Regions from separate parts of the Homo sapiens genome. Here regions 1 and 2 are each linked to region 3. Evidence: promoter capture Hi-C in 16 types of primary human blood cells and fetal thymus (Javierre and others, 2016). All regions are on one chromosome and are shown on one strand. The core of a region is centred on a gene start or on the middle of the fragment in contact, and the rest is flanking DNA. Distances in the headings are between cores, read along the strand shown.

Evidence for each region. Contacts are between HindIII fragments. The CHiCAGO score rates a contact against its expected background, and 5 or more counts as called.
Region 1: a fragment that was not itself captured here is called in contact with the fragment with the promoter of TREML2 in region 3 in 1 of 17 cell types (neutrophils); the score reaches 9.8 in neutrophils.
Region 2: a contact is called between a fragment that was not itself captured here and the fragment with the promoter of TREML2 in region 3, in 1 of 17 cell types (neutrophils). The highest score is 6.2, in neutrophils.

The regions. Positions count from the first base shown.
Region 1 is chr6:41,079,683-41,082,574 of GRCh38, reverse strand. NFYA (nuclear transcription factor Y subunit alpha) reads right to left here. Exons shown (of 10, transcript NM_002505.5): 3 at 1,678-1,764. It also overlaps a transcript of OARD1 not described here. Among named protein-coding and RNA genes, the nearest start is that of NFYA, 8.2 kb to the right of the region's middle. The HindIII fragment of the contact is 4,870 bases long and covers 1-2,892 here.
Region 2 is chr6:41,296,023-41,298,929 of GRCh38, reverse strand. No RefSeq gene overlaps it. Among named protein-coding and RNA genes, the nearest start is that of TREM1, 11 kb to the right of the region's middle. The HindIII fragment of the contact is 1,482 bases long and covers 707-2,188 here.
Region 3 is chr6:41,199,899-41,203,033 of GRCh38, reverse strand. It overlaps TREML2 (triggering receptor expressed on myeloid cells like 2), which reads left to right and starts at 1,885. Exons shown (of 5, transcript NM_024807.4): 1 at 1,885-2,080. The coding sequence starts at 2,026. RefSeq lists an enhancer at 1,597-1,666. The HindIII fragment of the contact is 14,567 bases long and covers 301-3,135 here.

The DNA of each region.
Region 1 (2,892 bases), core at 213-2,712, 120 kb after region 3:
AGATACAGCTATTAATAATTTTCTATCTATTCATCATCTTAATTTCCTCCCCAATTGATGTGCTATTCGTGCACATGATAAATGATTTGAGACTCCAAAGAGCTCACTGTATTTACAACAGAAAAATGTTACAAAGACACATGCATCAAACAAGAAGCCATACAGTTAAGAGCATGTTACATTCCTATTCCACAAGGGGTTAATGACAATCCAAAATACTGTTTTATATATGAGTAAGATGAAGCAAGCATGAAAAACATTAACAAGCTGTTGGACTGTGAGATTTGAACACAATTTTGGAATGCCTACAAGCTCAGTTTCTTTCGGCTTAATTTATGTTCAAAGTTGGCTGTACATCATTACCAAACACTATTGGTGGCAGGGGTAGGGGTGGGATTGAAAGGATAAAGTGATGACAATAAGAGGTAGTTATCTGCTGGATGCTTAGCAGCACTAGCAATAAAGTGAGATGCCAGTTCTACATTCTAGATTCTACTTTGAATCATTTCTAATTCAATGGAGGGAAAAAGTAGGGTACCCAAATCTTGCCAATTTCTCAAAAATAGAGTTATTTTAATAAAAGTAACCTACATACACAGAGTAGACTAGTGCTGCTACTCCTGTGTTTTATAGGAACTGGCCAAATTAGAACCCAATTTAGGATACTTAGCCATACACGATGCTAAAGAACTGTATTGATTAACCAAGAATTATCACAGTGGCTTTAACACCTAAGACTTACAGAAAGCACATCCTGCTTCTGCCTAACCAAGAGGTATCTGGGGTAATCTTTGCAGATCTAGTAATAAGACAGGTCACTATTCCCCCAGGAAAGGTAGTGGAAACAATAGCAGTTAACAAGAGATTAACAAGATTCAGTGCTTAGATAAACCTTGCCAAGTGCAATGATTATTTTTCAGTTGAGTTGCCCCTTGAATAAAAATAAAGCACAGCCTAGCCTAGTTTATGTGTGTCTGTATATGTATATATTTCCTTCTCCATTGTAACACAAATACACAAAATTTTTACCATGCAATTAATTGGATCAGAGTGTGAGCCCTGAATAAATTCTTTTTTTTTTTTTTGAGACGGAGTCTCGCTCTGTCACCCAGGCTGGAGTGCAGTGGCGCAATCTCTGCTCACTGCAAGCTCTGCCTCCTGGGTTCACGCCATTCTCCTGCTCCAGCCTCCCAAGTAGCTGGGACTACAGGTGCCCGCCACCATGCCCGGCTAATTTTTTTGTATTTTTAGTAGAGACAGGGTTTCACCATGTTTGCCAGGATGGTCTCGATCTCCTGACCTCGTGATCCGCCTGCCTCGGCCTCCCAAAGTGCTGGGATTACAGGCGTGAGCCACCGCGCCCGGCCGAGCCCTGAATAAATTCTAATGTCACTTATAAGAATTTCTTCCTGTCACTTATACCATTTCTTTTCCAGGCATTCTCAAAGAAACATGCTAGTCAAATCCAATTCTCAGAAAGTTGATACGGGGTCTCTATATGACTTGGCATGAAATATTAGGAAACTGGCATCTTATAAGCCTCAAAGACAAGTTAGCAGCATCAAAGACATGCAACTGACTTTGCCATTCCTACTGGAGATCCTAACACAAACAGCACCAGACATGAGGAGAGGAGAAGTTCATGCAGTGCTCACAGAGAATCAGAGAGGGTACCACTACCTGGAGGGTCTGGACTTGCTGGCCTGAGGCGGATGCCACCTGGGCCTCAGTCTGCAACTGCACAGCAGTGACACCACCCTGCTGCTGAGAACAGGAACAGGAAGAGCTTGAAATATGTCAGGAAGGAAATGTGTAGTTCAAGACACAGATCACCTTACCTCTTGGAGGAGAGAGACGGAAGCCTGAAGGACTTTCAAAATGTACAGACTCCCTATATTGAAGCTGTTTTGTTGAAGGTAGTAGGATTAAAGATATTAGCCCTTTGTCTCCAGAGTGGACCTCAAAAATTTGACTCAAAAACTCAAAACAGTTGTCATCATTAACACAAAGATTTGTAATGCAATCTTTCCCTCCAGAAACAGGAATCTGACACTTCTACTTACACAATTGTTTAATGCCCTTTTTATCTCCTCAGATGAGTTCACAAGAAAAAAATGATTAGGTTTTAATAGCCCTGAAACTACCATAAAAAATTCTGGGCTTAAATGCAATCACCAAGAAAGGAGGAGTAATTAATCACTATGAACCGAAATCATCTTCATGACGTCAATGCTCTCATGTCCCAAAACTAAGATTCTTTTTTTTTTAAACTTTATTTATGTACTTATTTTGAGATGGGGTCTTGCTGTTTTGCCCAGGCTGGTCTTGAATTCCTGGGCTTAAGCCAACCTTCCTGTCTCAGCCTCCAGAGTAGCTGGGATTACAGGCATGCAGCACCATGCCCAGCTTCAAAACTAAGATTATTTCTACCCAACTGGACTGCTTTAAGAGCCATGTTTTCAATGATTCAACCTTATTTTTACATCCACTAATGGCAAATTCTGAAAGAATAAAAACCCACCCTCCAGGGCACTGGTGTGAATGGAGGGCCCTTTGTGGAATCCCTTCCTCTAAAAAGGCAGTTGAAGGAAACTGCCAGAGCCACAGCAGCTGTATGGAAGGGAAAGCTATCAGGGGAGTTCGTCTTTGATCATTAGACGGGAAAAACTCATCATCAATACTACCTTTCCCTTCCCTACTACTTTTCTATATTAGCTAAATTCCATTTTGAAAACAAAGTATTTCCAAAATATCAATCTTGGCCTAAGGTCAAATAGAAACATAATACATTTTTTTCTTCTGGGGTGGGGAAAAAAGTGAAATTTTACTATAATAAACCCAAGCATAAAGCATCAGAAAATGTAACCTGTGTATAAATTCAAGAAAGCAATC
Region 2 (2,907 bases), core at 198-2,697, 96 kb before region 3:
ACTGTTGTTTTGGGGTGGAGAGTTCTGTCAATGTCTATTAGGTTCATTTGGTCAAGTGTCGAGTTCAGTTTCTTTGTAAGTCTCTAAGAATTTGCTTTTTGAATCTGAGTGCTCCTGTGCTGGATGCATATATATTTAGGATAGTTAGGTCTTCTTGTTGAATTGAACTTTTTACCATTATGTAATGTTCTTTGTCTTTTTTGATCTTTGTTGGCTTAAGTTCTGTTTTGTCTGAAATTAGATAGCAACCTCTGCTTTTTCTGTTTTCTGTTTGCTTGGTACCTTTTCTCCATCTTTTTACTTTGAGCTGATAGGTCTCATTGTGTGTGAGATAAGTCTCTTGAAGATAGCATACCATTGAGTGTTGCTTCTTTATCCAATTTGCCACTCTGTGACTTTTAATTGGGATATTTAGCCCTTTTACATTCAAAGTTAATATTGATATGTGTGGATTTGATCTTGTTATCACATTGTTAGCTGGTTATTATGCAGATTTGTTTGTGTGGCTGCTCAATAGTGTCAATGGTCTATGTACTTAAGTGCATTTTTGTAGTGGCCAATGTATTAGGTCATTCTTGCATTGCTATAAAGAAATACCTGAGACTGGATAATTTATAAAGAAAAGAGGTTTAATTGGCTAATGTTTCTGCAGGCTACACAGGAAGCATGGGGCTAACATCTGATTCTGGGGAGGTCTCAGGAAGCTTACAATCATGGCAGAAGGTAAAGGGGGTACAGGGATGTCACATGGTGAAAGCAGAAGCAAGAGAGAATGGTGGGGTGTTATGGGAAGTCGGGGACCCTGAACAGAGGGACCAGCTAGAGCCGAGGCAGAAGAACATAAAATGTGAAGATTTAATGGACATTTATCAGTTCCCAAAATTAATACTTTTATAATTTCTTATGCCTGTCTTTACTGCAATCTCTGAACATAAATTGTGAAGATTTCATGGACATTTATCACTTCCCTAATAATACTCTTATAATTTCTTATGCCTGTCTTTACTTTAATCTCTTAATCCTGTTATCTTTGTAAGCTGAGAATGTACGTCACCTCAGGACCACTATTGTACAAATTGATTGTAGAACATGTGTGTTTGAACAATATGAAATCAGTGCACCCTGAAAAAGAACAGAATAATGGTGATTTTCAGGGAACAAGGGAAGATAACCATAAGGTCTGACTGCCTGTGGGGTTGGGCAGAATAGAGCCATATTTTTCTTCTTGAAGGGAGCCTATAAACAGACATGCGAGTAGGGGAAATATCGCTGAATTCTTTTCCCAGCAAGGAATATTAATAATTGATACCCTGAGGAAGGAATGCATTCTTGGGGGGAGGTCTATAGATGGCCGCTGTGAGAGTGTCTGTCTTATGTGGTTAAGATAAGGACTGAAATACACCCTGGTCTCCTGCAGTACCCTCAGGCTTACTAGGATTGGGAAATTCCAGCCTGGTAAATTCTAGTCAGACTGGTTCTCTGCTCTCAAACCCTGTTTCCTGTTAAGATGTTTATCAAGACAATGCGTGCACAGCGGGACATAGACCCGCATCAGTAATTCTAATTTTGCCTTCGCCTTGTGATCTTTATAGCCCTTTGAACCATGTGATCCTTGTGACCTACTCCCTGTTCATATACCCCCTCCCCTTTTAAAATCCCTAATAAAAACTTGCTGGTTTTGTGGCTTGGGGTCATCATCATGGTCCTAACAATATGTGATGACACCCCTGGAGGCCCAGCTCTAAAATTTCTCTCTTTGCACTCTTTCTCTTTATTTCTCAGACTGGCCAACACTTAGGGAAAATAGAAATGAATCTACGTTGAAATATTGGGGGCTGGTTCCCCTGATACTGGGGGAGGTGCTACACACTTTTAAATGACCAGATCTTGTGTGAACTCAGAGTGAGAGCTCACTTGTCACCAAGTCATGGCCCAAGCCATTCATTTGGGATCCACCCACTTGATCCAAACACCTCCCTCCAGGCCCTACCACCAAGATTGGAGATTACATTTCAACATGACATTTGGGTGGGGACAAATATCCAGATTATATCAGCTGGTAATGGTCTTTCTTTAACAAATTTAATACTTCCTTCAGGACCTCTTGTAAGACAAGTCTAGTAGTAATGAATTGCCTTAGCAATTGTTTGTCTGACATGGATCTTATTTCTCCTTCACTTATGAAGCTTAGTTCGGCTGGATATGAAACTCTTGGTTGGCATCTCTTTTCTTTAAGAATGCTAAATGTATGCAGCATAATTCACAATTGCAATTATATGGAATCATCCTAACTGCCAACTAACTGATAAGTGGATACAAATATATGGTATCTATCTATCTATCTATCTATCTATCTATCTATCTATCCATCCACACACCACAGAATACTATGCATTCATGAAAAAGAATGAAATACTGTCTTTTGCAGTAACTTTGAAGGAACTAGAGTCTATTATCCTAAGTGAAGTAAAAACTTGAACAGAAAACCAAATACAGAATGTTCTCATTTGTAAGTGGGAGCTAAGCTATGGGTACACAAAGGCATACAGAATGGTATAATGAACGTTGTGGACTCAGAATGGAAAAGAGTGGAAAAGGGGTTCAGGATGAACAATTACCTACTGGTACAATACACACTATTTAGGTGATGAATACACTAAAAGCCCAGGCTTCACCGCTATACAATTCATCCACTGTACAATTCATTCATTCATCATGTAGCCAAAAACCACTTGTACCCCTAAGCTATTGAGATTAAAAACAAACAAAACAAAACAAAACAAAAAAGAAAGCTAAATATAGGCCCCCAGTCTCTTCTGGCTTGTAGGATTTCTGCTGAAAGTCTGCTGCTAGCTGGTTCTCTTTGTAGGTGACCTGCCCCTTCTCTCTAGCTGCCTTTAATACTTT
Region 3 (3,135 bases), core at 636-3,135:
GCTCAGGAAGTTCTGAGGACTGGGTGAGAAACATTGAAAAAGGAAGGGTGAATAAGGAAAACAAAACACGTCTGTGAGCTGAGAGGTCTCAAGTGACAATCGTGTCTCATTCCTACGCCCCCAGTGCCTACCTAGCCCCATGCATAGCAATGAGGTTGTGGGAATGAACAAATGAATGAATGAATTAATGAGTGAGTGAATGAGTTGAGAGACTACAAAAGCTTAGGGTCAGCCGAGATAGACTTCTTTGCTTGGAGCTTGGGGCTTCAAGGTCAATTTAAGATTGTGGCCATGCAAGCTTGAGGACTTTTTGCTCTGAGTCCTGTTAAAATTAATGAAAATGGAGACCAGGCCTGAAGAGTCCCTGAGCAAAAATTAAAAAAACAGTTAGGCCTCATAAGTGACCTCAACTTTGCTTGATTTGCAAATATCAGTGAAACTTAACACGAGCTATTTCTTGTAAATGTGTATATTAAGGAAAAATAGAACTTAAGCTCAACCAATCAAAAGAAACTTATATAATTAACTAGGGTCTTTCCAACAGGATAGGCCAAATAAGGGAACTATATAACTATAACTAATTAAATATTTTCTTCAGTTTACTTGTCCTGTAGGAGTCTTCCCCTTGCATTCCCCCAGTGGAGCTCCTCAACCTCTTCTGTTTGGAGCTGCCTGATTCATGAATTGTTGTTTGCTGAAATAATCTGTTTAAAATTTTATTGTGCCTCAGTTTACCTTTTGACAGTCCCATCTAAGGAGTAGAAACATGGCACTAGTGAGTAGGGGGAGCATACATAATCACGGGAGTCCAGCTGGGTCCCCACACACTGAAGGAGCAGATGACACAGGTACCGGACATCAAAAATTGATGCTTCTGATTCTAGGCCTTGGGGTAAGTGAAGGGTGTGGTCTTGGGCCTAGTGCTGGGTCATTTCCACTGGAGCTGGTGGCTGTACAGGCGAGATAGCATTGAGCAGGAGGAAGTGGAGGGCACTTGCCTGCGTGCTGACGTAGGCTGGAGGCAGGGGAGGAAGGGGGTCTTGAGATGAGGTGGGTGAGGGGAAGTACTGCGGAGGCTGTAGGAAGCCTGCACGAGGGACTAGGAGTCTAGAGGGAGCTGATGGTGAGTAGAGTCGACAGGAGGAGAGGCAGGGAGAGGGACAGAGAGAGGAGACGTATGGATAGGGAAAAGGAGAGGCTGCTGGGGTGTGTGTGAGACTGTGTGCATGGGCGTGTGTGTGTGTGTGTGAAAGTGAATAAAAGACAAAGTGAGACTGTGAGTGTGAGTGCATGTGCATGCACACCTGTGTGTGAGAGTACAGGAACCCCTCCCTCAACCCAAAATTTATGCCCTGAGTCTTAACAATTTGCATTTTTCCCGCTTGACAAAAGTAAGATTTCAAGTGAGCCTGTAAGAGGTTATTTGCAACAGTGAACACAAGTGACTGTTCTGAGCAGCCAGGAGCCTGGGAGAGAGAGAGAGGAAGGAACAGAAAGAATCTGCAATGAATGAATGAATGAGAGTTTATAAGAACTTCCCTGTGAATGTATATATGTAAGAAACTAGGGTCTGAGATGCTCCATCTCAGCCTAAGAGCCCGCACCCCTGGGTCTCTGAGCCCAGAAGATTCCAGGAAGGTCTATACCTGACGTTCCAGAAGCCTCACCCCAGCCCCCTTGCTGGATCCTAGGGACCAGTTTCTGGGGGAGGTTGGGGAGGGCGGGGAGCCCTCTGACTGTGAGTCCTCCCGGCTTGGGGCCCCAGACTGGGTGGAGCAGCCACACCTGCCTGAAGTTCCGAGGAAAAGGGCGGAAACAGCTGCCAGCACCGCCCTCATAATAGGCTCAATGAATCCCTGCGGTTGGCTGGGGGCAGTGGGTCCCACACTGCCTCACTTCCCTAAATGGGCAGCTTCACTTTTAGAACCCCGGGTCCTTCCCTGGCAGGCCCAGGTGGCACATCCTGTGTCGGGTGGGCCCTCACCTTGGATCTCCAGGCCTGACACTGCCCAGCTGGATGGAACCATGGCCCCAGCCTTCCTGCTGCTGCTGCTGCTGTGGCCACAGGGTTGCGTCTCAGGTGAGGGGAGAAGGGGCTGACTTGTGGAGGAGGGAGTGGGTACAGAGGCAGGAGCTCAGGGCCTTTTTCTTACCCTCCTTACCAGCAGTTTTCTTGTTTAGTGTTTTGTGGGTTGGGGAAGGAGGAGATTAGGGCTGACTTAGCTCTTTACCCTAATATCAGGCCCCAGGCGAAGCTAACCCAGGCCTCCCAAGCCAAGATAAAGCTCTGGACCCTCTCTGCATTGGCTCCTTTATCTGCTAGGCTTCCTCAGGCTTTAAAGCAGAGCCCTCAATTTCCTCACACAAATAGCTTTCTCTGCTTGGCCTCTGTCAGGAAGCCCTGCTTAGTTATGACAGCAATCATTGCATCATGTGTGTTTTGAACTGAATTTGAACATTTTTCTTGAAATGCTGATGCCACATCCTGTCCCTGCCTCTGTCCTGAAGGGACCAGTGTGTGAATGCCTTTCCCACCTCACAGATACCAATGCTCCTTGAGGAACCTCACCCATTCCTGCCCCTCTCGCTGCCATGGCAACCAAGTTACCACTTCCTGTTCAGTTCTGGGCATGGTGGGGGTTGGCAAAACTCACCACTGCCTGTGAGAGGGGTGGGAGGTGTAGGCACACATGAAGACATTGCCCTGGAGACCCATCCCAAGGTCACCCAACTCTGCACCTCCCAGAGGGTAGAGAAACAGCTTCCCACTGCCAGGGCAGAAAGGGGTCTCTCTTGTGCTAAGAAATCCTGGGCTCATCCACCAAATAATGAAGTTGGATCATTCTGTTTAGTTTGCAAGGGACAGAGGGATGCTTAGAGAGGGTGCTGCTTCACACAGAGCCTCAGCTCTAGTGGCTGCTGGCTGGGACTTGGGACGGATATCCTGGATTCTGGTGGGACAGATGTCCTGGATTCTGGGCCCTTGACTGTCACAGCTCTGGGTTCCATTGGGGGAACTGGGAGGCCCCAGCATGTGGGAAAAGGAAGCATGAGTTGAGCATGCACTGTGTGCAAAGCACTGACCTGGGGCAGAATTCTCACAGCAACCTGTGAGGGGTGTGGTGCTATTCTCAC